Linked DNA regions of Homo sapiens: all the other regions are linked to region 2. The links are contacts of gene promoters, found by promoter capture Hi-C in human tissues and cell types (Jung and others, 2019). All regions are on one chromosome and are shown on one strand. Each heading gives the region's core, a stretch centred on a gene start or on the middle of the fragment in contact. The rest is flanking DNA. Distances are from core to core; before and after follow the strand shown. Region 1 has its middle 13 kb from the start of HCRTR1. Region 2 holds the start of FABP3 (fatty acid binding protein 3). Region 3 overlaps NKAIN1 (sodium/potassium transporting ATPase interacting 1).

Region 1 (3,164 bases), core at 155-2,654, 230 kb before region 2:
GGGGGGCAAGTGAAACTATTGACTCAGACATGAAACTGATGCTACTTCCTGGGCTGTGAGTAATAAAGTCCTTTGTCTCTGACCCAAGACTCTCAAGTCTTCTGCCAGCATCCACAATACTGTGACAGCTAAGGATCTGGGCTGGCCTCCTCCCACCTCTGCCTCCCAAAATGTTGGGATTACAGGCATGAGCCAACACGCCTGGCAAAAAGTTTTTAAGAATCAAAAAGTTTTAATAAAGTAAAAAAGTTACTGAAGCGAAGGTTAATTTATTTTTAAAGAAAATTTTAAAAACATATTTAGTGTAGCCTGAGTGTACAGTTTATAAAGTCTACAGTAGTGTATAGTAATGTGCTAGGCCTTCGCGTTCACTCACCACTCACTGACACTCAAGCAACTTCCAGTTCTGCAAGCTTCACTCATAGTAAGTGCCCTATACAGATGTACCATTTAAAAATCTTTCATAATATATTTTTATTGTAACCTCTCTATGTTTAAATATTTTTCGATACACAGCTACTCACCATTGCATTGCCTACAGTAACAGTATAATAACATGCTGTACAGGTTTGTATCCTAGGAGCAACAGGCTGTACCACGTAGTCTAGGTGTACTTGTAGTAGGCTATCTCATCTAAGTGTGGGTAAGTACACTCTGTGATGTTCACACAACAATAAAATCCTCTCTCGGAACACATCCCAGCTGTTAAGCAACAAACATAAAATGCTATTTATAAAAGACACCATTTATAAAAGCATTAAAAAAAACTATGGGATATCTTGGAATAAACCTAAGAGATAAGCAATATTTTTATGGAGAAAATTATACTTTCTTTTTCTTTTTTTTGAGATGGAGTCTTGCTCTGTTGCCCAGGCTGGAGTGCAGTGACACGATCTCGGCTCACTGCAACCTCCGCCTCAAGGGTTCAACAGATTCCCTTGCCTCAGCCTCCTGAGTAGCAGGGACTACAGGAGCCTGCCACCATGCCCAGCTAATTTTTGTATTTTTAGTAGAGACGGGGTTTCACCATGTTGGCCTGGCTGGTCTCGAACTCCTGACTTCAAGCAATCCATCCACCTCAGCCTCCCAAAGTGCTGGGATTACAGGCATGAACCACCATGCCTGGCCTAAAACTTTCTTGATGGTCATTCAAGAGACCCAGATAAATGGAGAAGTATAACTTGCTCATAGAAGAAAACACTTAATTGTAAAGATGTTATTTTTAAATTAACCTATAAATTTATTTTACTTTCAATAAGAGGTTCAAAGAAGAGTTTTTTAAAATTAATATCTTGGGAAACATGTCAAGCTTATCCTAAGGTCATATGAAAGAACAAATAGTTAAGAGTAGCCAAGGTAATTTTGAAGAAAATTAACAAAACGAGGAGAATCACCCTCCACATAACAAGATGTATACAACCAAAGTCATTAAGGCAGGGAGGTATTGGTAGAGGGATGTACAAATAACTGGATGAGATAGAGCTGAAAGCTCAGAAACAGAGCTATGCAGACTGGAAGTTCAACCTATGTCAGAGGTGGCATTTAAATCAATTCCCTCCAATACCTGGTGGTGGGAAAACTGGTTTTCCGTGTGGAAGAAAGAGAAGTATATACCTGTATCACACTGTTAACAAAACTCCCAAGGAATCAAGTCACCATGACTGAGAGCCAGCTAGAAACCATAAATAATAAACTTAGACCCCAAAGACTTCCGATATTGGATTTATCAAACATGGAATATAAAACACCATAATTGTGAATAAAATATTTTAGTAAATATAACATCAAATTACGAAAATGAGCAAGCAAAAAGATACTCTAAAAAATGATCAGGCAGGGCGGGCACAGTGGCTCACACCTGTAATCCCAGTACTTTGGGAGGCCAAGGCAGGAGGATTGCTTGAGCCCAGGAGTTTGAGATCAGCCTGGGCAACATAGCGAGACCTAGTCTCTACAAATAATAATAAAAAAAAATTAGTCGGTCATGGTGGCACACATCTGTGGTCCCAGCTACTCAGGAGGCTGAGGTGGGAGAATTGCTTGAGCCTAGGCGGTAGAGGCTGCAGTGAGCCATGATCATGCATGCCACTGCACTCCAGCCTGGGCAACAGAGGGAGACACTGTCTCAAAAAAAAAAAAAAAAAAAGTGATGAGGTAGATGTGGAAAAAAACAACTAAATAGAGACAATAGAAAGGAAAATGAGATACTGAAATTAAAGAAAAGAAAGAAAACCTGGTGTCTGGGCTGAGTATCAGGTGAGAAACAACATTATAATAGCCACAAGCTGGAAACAATCAGATATTTATCAACAAAACTATGTATGAGTAAGTTGTGTTATATTCATATAATGGAATAGTATACAGTGGTGAAAATAAACATATGATATTTATTCATAACAAAAAGAATAAATCTTAAAAAATGCAATGTAGAGTAAGAAAGCATGACAAAAATAATACACACTGTAAGATTCCATTTATATAAAATCCAAAAACAGGTTAAAACACATCTTTAGGCATGCACAGAGGACAAAGCCATAAAAAGTAAGCAAGACAATGATTACCATAAGGTCAGGGTAATGGTTTCCTTTAAGAGAGAAAGTAAGGGATTGTGATGGGATATACACAGGGAGCTTTTAGGAGTGCCTATCATCTTCTACTTTATGACCTGGGGGATTATGTAGATGTTTGCTTTATAATTGTTATTTAAGCTGTGCAATTGTATTTGATATGCCTTTCCATATTGTGCTGTATTTCACAATTAAAAAAATTTGAGGCCGGGCACGGTGGCTCGTGCCTGTAATCCCAGCACTTTGGGAGGCCGAGATGGGTGGATCACTTGAGGTCAGGAGTTTGAGATCAGCCTGGCCAACATGGTGAAACCCAGTCTCTACTAAAAGTACAAAAACTAGCTGGGCATGGTAGCAGGCATCTGTAATCCCAGCTACTCGGGAGGCTAAGGCAGATAATCACTTGAACCTGGGAGGCAGAGGTTGTGATGAGCCGAGATCATGCCACTGCACTCCAGCCTGGGTGAAAGAGGGAGTCCACCTAAAAAAAAAAAAAATATATATATATATATATGTATATATATATATACATATTTGAAAAGCACAGTAGGTTAGATATAGCTGAAGAGAAAGCTGAAAGACAGATATGAAGAAATT
Region 2 (3,486 bases), core at 433-2,932:
GGCTCCTGTGTTGGCTCCTGCAGGCCCACCCTGGACAGGCTGCTGCTGGCTGAAATTCAGTTCGGCACTACTCCTTGGTGTGCAGGGCCTCCTGCCATCCCTCAGAAATTCATTTATACCTCACTTCCTTTGAGAAGTCTACATTGGGCCCTCAGGTCAGGACAGGACAGGACTCCCTTTAGAGGCACCACGCTAGTTTTATGTCTGGCTGCCCAGAGGTGAATGTGTGTCTTGTTCCCTGTTGTCTCTCTCCAAAGCAGGGCCTGGCACAAAGTAGGTGCTTTATTAACTGCTGAATTAATGAGTGAGCTCCTCAGAGCTTCAACTTGTTCACCTTTTTAAAAAGAGAAAATAATACAGTAACACCTACTTCATGGATTTTGCTTTAAAAGTCCAATGAGGCCAGGTGTGGTGGCGTGTGCCTATAGTCCCAGCTGCTGGGGAGGCTAAGGTAGGAGGATCCCCTGAGCCCCGGAGTTTGAGGCTGCAGTGAGCTATGATGGCGTCACAGTACTCCAGCCTGGGAGACACAGCGAGAGACTTTGTCTCTAAAAAATAATAATAAAATAAAAAGTTCAATGAAACAATACACCCAAAGCCCTCAGCATGCAATAAATAGCAAGACAAGGCAGGTCTTATTTTTACTGAAAGTGCTTAGTAAACTATACAGTGACAAACCACCGCACAACAGGCTCTCGAAAGGAGGCAGCAAATTACCCAAAAGTGCAGGCGGCTTGCTAGTGTGCACAGGCCAAAGAAAGGGCGGCAGGTGGGGAAGGCAGCCATGGGCCTTGAAGAGCTGACCGAATTGGCAGAATTTCTGCAGGAGGGGAGCTGGGAACGACCTGAGCTAAAGCTCGGAGCTGTGCGAAGAAACCGGAAAAGCCCAGAGCACTTGCAGGGGCGGGTGGGGAGCTAGATGGTGGGGTGGGGTGGGGACGGAGGAGGGCCAGCAGGAGACATTCCGCAGGGAGGGGCAAGCACGTGTGAGGCGGGCGGGGCGCGAAGGGTCAGGCTTTTGCTCAAAACAGGCAGAGGACAAGGTCAGCTCAGCCGCAGACCGAGCCGCTGGTGACTGTCTCCGCCACCAGGCAGTGAGAGTGAAGGGAGAGCGCGAGCTCTGAAGCCCGCTAGACTAAGCTTGCAATCTGAGCTCCATTCACCCCCTCCTATTTCTTGAGACCTTGTCAGTTCCCCTGTGAGCCTCGGACTCCTCACTTGTAAAACGAGGACAGATGCCCGTGCCAGAAGTCAACCAGAGCTTTCCCCGGCGTGGGCACCAGCCCAAGGGCGTTTTGCTTTTCTAGTCTCATCTCTGCTCTGACGCTAAGCTCAAAGAGGGACTGGGGGACGGGAAGATATCCACCATGGCATGCGCCCTAGCTCTCGGGCTGGTGTTGGCTGCTTCCTTCTCAGATTCCAGAGTGCCTAGAGGCCAGGAAAGGGAGAAGGTCCTACCAGCCTGGGGTAGGGACTCGGGGGCCAGGCACTGGCGCTGACGCAGGCTAGCAGGGCGCCACTGGCTGGTCCCCACCCACCTCGGTGGGTTGGGGGATGGGCGCACCAGCCCCTCCTGGGTGAGCCCTAGCCTGGGGCTTCCTATTTCGGGAGCCGGGGGCGTGGGCCACGTCTCCTCATGTGATGCGAGGGCTATTTAAAGCGGCAGCCCGGGCAGGGAGCCGCCGTCGGAGCCCTTGCACGCCTGCTCTCTTGTAGCTTCTCTCAGCCTAGCCCAGCATCACTATGGTGGACGCTTTCCTGGGCACCTGGAAGCTAGTGGACAGCAAGAATTTCGATGACTACATGAAGTCACTCGGTGAGCAAGCCGCGGGGCTCAGGATGTTGGCTTGGGGACTGGCTGGTGGCGTGCCTAGCCCCACGCAGCACTCCTGCCGCATCCCTCCTGGTTAAGACTGGGGAATAGGGGAGCGCGGAGATGGCAGCCTGGCCTAGAGCAGGTGGGGCCTGTTCAGAGGGGGCTTTGGTGGTCCAAATCTGGTTAGAGACCACGGTAGGGAGGTGGTGGAAGGAGGCAGCTGTGTGGGAGGCTCTTTCCAGGAAGAGGGATATGTGATTTGGAGGTAGGAGGAGGGTTTGGATAAAGAACACTGATCACAGGAAAGGGAGTGTAGCCAGGGGAGAAAAAGAACAGGGGCATGGGTAGTTTAGAAATTGGAGGAGACTGAACCCAGAAAGGGAATGGGGCAGCCAGGGAGTGTACAATGATGTAAACAAGTAGGAAATACCTAGGAGGAAAAAGATTAGTGGGGAAAAAACTGTGGATCAGTGAATCAGATATGAGAAGGACGTAAGACAGGAACCTGCAGTAAGCAGCAATCCCCATCTCTGCTTGGTTAGGGAAGAGAATTCTTGCTGGAGAATGCCCTTTCTCACCAGCCAGTCTGACCTTGTCCTGCAGTCTATGTATCCAGGCCTTCATCACTGTCTGTGAGCCTCGTGGTAGGGTGGGGCAAGAGGCCCATGATCAGCTGGGCCTTTCCTGCAACCCAAGGCTCACCTATCTGTGCGAGGGGTAGGCAGAGAAAGCCATTGGACTTCTGATGTGCAGTAGAGGGTCCCAAGGCAAGGTCAAGACCTGGGAGGGAGGATCACTGGTTTAGGAGGATGTGGAGAACTGCTGTGGTGTTGGGATGGAGAAGAATCAGGATTCAAAGAATCTCACAGGTGAGGAACTTGGAGATTCCCATACCATCTAGTTCAACAGGGAAACTGAAACCAGGAGAGTAGAAATGTATTATAACAATTCCACAGCAGAGCCAATATGAAAATCTAAGGTTTCTAGATCTGTAACCCAGAGCTCTTCCCACTACCCTACAGGCCCTGCGAGTGGGAAGAAAAGTAGAAACTGCTTAGCTAATGATTGACCTCAGCCCTTCTTCTACTGCTTTGGGCTTAGATGGAGAGGTCAAAGCTCTCAACGGCCTCTACCCTATCTTGGGCGCTATGCCCAGTAATTCTAGGCAGGCAGTCATTCTTAGAGGAGCAGCCCCCAGCCCCCACGAACACAGCCCAGCAGCTATTGGGAAGTTGGAATGCCCAGATTTAGTTCCTCCTTCCAAAGCTGGGCCAGAGCTGAGTCTTGAATTGAGCTGCAACAACTTTACCATTCTTGTTCCCTTATTCTGCCCCGAGTTGGGTCAGCGGGCTGGTCTCCCTGAAGTCCTGTTATCTTTCAGCAGCTTATGTTAAGGCAGCCAGCATTCTCATCGTAGGAATGGAAAGCCTGGGAAAATACCCTCCTCAGCTCTCAGTAAGTAGTGCTGGCTTCATTTCTAAGTAGAACCCAGATCTCCCTGAGTCTCCTAAATTCTGTCAGCTCAATATTCTTAGTTTCTCTTGGTTCAGACCCTCACTCATCCCGCAGTGGTTTCCTTTTCAAACACTCCATACCTCTGGGTAGATCCTAAGTGAACAGAGCTCCCAGTGCCGTGACAAGGTCCTGCTCTGTGCAAGGGAGTGTGATTG
Region 3 (3,283 bases), core at 384-2,883, 170 kb after region 2:
CCCCAGACTGGTTGGAGTCAGCCGTTCTGCGTCCCCTTAGGCAAGCCTGCCACTGCTCTGGGCCTCAGTTTCCTCATTTATAAAAAGGGGTAGGATTGGCCGGGCGCGGTGGCTCACGCCTGTAATCCCTGCACTTTGGGAGGCCCAGGAGGGAGGATCACGAGGTCAGGAGATCGAGACCATCCTGGCTAACACGGTGAAACCCTGTCTCTATTAAAAATACAAAAAAAAATTAGCCGGGCATGGTGGCGGGCACCTGTAGTCCCAGCTACTTGGGAGGCTGAGGCAGGAGGATGGCGTGAACCCGGAAAGCAGAGCTTGCAGTGAGCTGAGATAGTGCCACTGCACTCCAGCCTCGGCGACAGAGAGAGACTCCGTCTCAAAAAAAAAAAAAAAATAGGGTAGGATTAAAAGGTGTGACATGAGCATGAGGTTTATAGACAATGAGTGCTCCATAAAGTATCCTAAGGTAGACCCCTTGAGAGAGGTTACTGATCTTCTGGGAGATTTGGTTTGTTTTGTTTCCTAATGGGACAGATGTTACTGGTGTCTGCTCTGAGGAGGGAAAGGGCAAGACTGTCATCCCCAAGAGGACAGGAGCTGGGTGCACTGTATTCACCACTGTGTTCTCGGGATTTAGCACACAAGAGGCACTCGAACTCCTGACCTCGTGATCCACCCGCCTTCGCCTCCCAAATTGCTGGGAGCGTGAGCCTGACCAAGATGGCAAAACCCTGTCTCTACTAAAAATACAAAAATTAGCCAGGCATGGTGGCAGTCACCTGTAATCCCAGCTACTCAGGAGGCTGAGGCAGAGAATTGCTTGAACCAGGGAGGCGGAGGTTGCAGTGAGCTGAGATCGCACCACTGCGCTCCAGCCTGGGCGACAGAGCGAGACTGTCAAAAAAAAAAAGGCACTCGAGAAATGTTTATAAGACGAATACATGTTATGTACTCAGAATACTGTCTAGATCAAATAGGAGATAAATAAATGTGGCCGGGCACAGTGGCTCACACCTGTAATCCCAACACCTTGAGAGGCCAAGGCAGGGGAGGATCACTTGAGCTCAGGAGTTCGAGACCAGCCTGGGAAATATAGTGAGACCCTTGTCTCTACAAAAAAGTTTAAAAAATAGCCAAGTGTGGGTGGCAGCTGCCTGTAGTCCCAACTACTCAGGAGGCTGAGGTGGGAAGATCACTTGATCCCAGGAGGCTGAGGCTGCAGTGAGCCCGGATCATGCCACTGCACTCCAGCATGAACAACAGCAAGACCCTGTCTCAAAAAAAAAAAAAAAAAAAGAGAGAGGAGACTTCTGGTCCAACTTTGTTGTAAGACATTCCGGAACTATAGAAGTGCATATAGTTAAGATTCAAAGTCTCCCCATCTCCCCACTCCCTAGAAATAACATCTCATAACTGTTTATTGTTATGAGATAACTCCCTGGCTTTTGGTCCTGTGTTTACAGTCGCACGCGTTTGGTGCCTTTTAGGGGAGGTGTTTACACGAACGGAATCATGTTGCTCTGCAGCTTGCTTTTTTCACCTAACAGTGATGGCCGTGGCCATTTCCCAGTGGGATCCGGGCTGGGATAGAGAGGCAGCAAGGCTGCAAAAGCCCTGGAAGAAAGACAGGAGAGAGGGGTGTGCGTGCGTGCGTGTGTGTGAATGCGTGTGCGCGCATGTGTTCGTGCGTGCGCGTGCGTGTGTGCACGTGTGCATGTGTGTGTGTGTGCGTGTGTGTGTGCATGTGTGTGCGTGTGTGTGTGTTCGGGGACCAGGGAGGCATCTTCACAGGTCCCTAGGCACAGTGGAGGGGAACCTGGCAGAGAAGCCCCCATCATCAGCTCATCAGCTCCCAGAGGACAGTGGTCTCTGTCTCCAGACGAGCTCTCTGAGGCAGGATACACGCCATGTTGTTCACTGCCATATGTCCAGGGCCCGGCACATTGTAGGTGCTCAAGAAATATTTGCTCAATGAATTGAGTCCTTACTGGGCCCATCTTCTTTGGCAGGGTCAAAGACCACTTGGTCTCTGTGACTGTTCCTTTTAATCTTATGTTGAGTTAAATCTCATTTCAACTCATGCTCAGATGGCAATGACCCCAGATGGACCCCCGGAGATGGGGAGAGGGAGGAGCACCTCCCCTCAGGCACATCACTGCCCCCTCTGCTGTCAGTTTGCTCACCTCCCTAATGAGGGGGTTGGGCCAGCAGATCTCAGGGGTCCTTCCAGCTCTGTTGTCTGCGGCTTTCATCCCACTCCCTCATTTCACAGATGAGGGGTTGAGTCGAGTTTAATTTTGTCAGCTGCCTCAGAAATCCATTGGGAAAAGGGGGGTCTGAGGTTGGGGATGCAACAAAAGCTGTTGCCATATAGTCAGCACCAACTGCGTGCCAGACATCCGGCTGGCTGCGAGCTTTATGGGCACTGTCTGAATCCTCAGGACATTTCACTAATGAGAAAACTGAGGCTCAGAGAGGGGGATAACTTGCCGAAGGTCACACAGTGAGTCGATGAGAACTGGGGCTGGAACTCAGGCCTCCCTGTCCTTAAATGGAGAGCTCGTCCCTCAGTGGACTGAAGTCAGTGAGAGAGACAGAACCAGGCTGGACCAAAGCTTTCTCCAGAAACTTCAAGGGTCCATCCCTCATCTTTCCCCAGACAGGCTGACTTCTGTGTCTAAGGCCTATGGTGACATGGCTGGAATTTTGGCCAGGAAAGTAGTTGACTTGCCAAATTGGCTGGCAAGGGTGGGGCACGAGAGACTTCTGATGGGTTCAATGGCCCTGAGCCTGGGCCCTACGCTACCTTCTCTCCCAGCCAGCTTCCTGGAGCTAGGGTGGGCCCATCTGCATTATTCAGCCCTTGTCCCTCACTCCCCACCTTGTGTGGGCTCCTGGGGTTGGCGTCTAGACAGACAAGAGCATCCTACTGAGAACAGAGGCAGCCCTGACTCGGGGCTGAAGGTTCCTATGGCAACGGCATCCCCCTTCAGCTGGCAGCTACCTGATAAATAAATAATTAGGGGTGGGGGCGGGGAGCGAAGGGCAGGGGGAAGGGCAGCAGGGAGCCTCAGGGAGGCCCCACTCTGGAGAGCAGAAGGGCCAGTTAGGTTTGAAGTAGGGTGGAGGGCAGGGGGGTTGGCATTGCTAGGTGAAAGAAAGTGGACGGAAAAAAGTGGCCAGATATGAGAGATTTGGAAGATCCCAGAGAGCCAGGGCTTGAGGATGGGCTGCGGCGAGTGGGGGACGTGGAACAAGTGGGGAGCATGAGGGAGACTGA

The links. Contacts are between HindIII fragments. The study calls those that stand out against the background at their distance.
Region 1: a contact is called between a fragment that was not itself captured here and the fragment with the promoter of FABP3 in region 2, in 1 of the 25 tissues and cell types used here (IMR-90 fibroblasts).
Region 3: a fragment that was not itself captured here is called in contact with the fragment with the promoter of FABP3 in region 2 in 2 of the 25 tissues and cell types used here (H1 embryonic stem cells and thymus).

Annotation. Positions count from the first base shown.
Region 1 is chr1:31,602,868-31,606,031 of GRCh38, reverse strand. No RefSeq gene overlaps it. Among named protein-coding and RNA genes, the nearest start is that of HCRTR1, 13 kb to the left of the region's middle. RefSeq lists an enhancer at 1-773. The HindIII fragment of the contact is 3,458 bases long and covers 1-3,133 here.
Region 2 is chr1:31,371,272-31,374,757 of GRCh38, reverse strand. FABP3 (fatty acid binding protein 3) reads left to right here and starts at 1,682. Exons shown (of 4, transcript NM_004102.5): 1 at 1,682-1,816. The coding sequence starts at 1,744. LOC124903892 (a long non-coding RNA gene) reads right to left here and starts at 459. Exons shown (of 2, transcript XR_007065573.1): 1 at 371-459. RefSeq lists a silencer at 1,202-1,496. The HindIII fragment of the contact is 11,361 bases long and covers 1-3,486 here.
Region 3 is chr1:31,198,475-31,201,757 of GRCh38, reverse strand. The region is part of intron 1 of NKAIN1 (sodium/potassium transporting ATPase interacting 1); the gene reads left to right. Among named protein-coding and RNA genes, the nearest start is that of NKAIN1, 40 kb to the left of the region's middle. RefSeq lists an enhancer at 2,764-3,264. The HindIII fragment of the contact is 6,249 bases long and covers 1-3,283 here.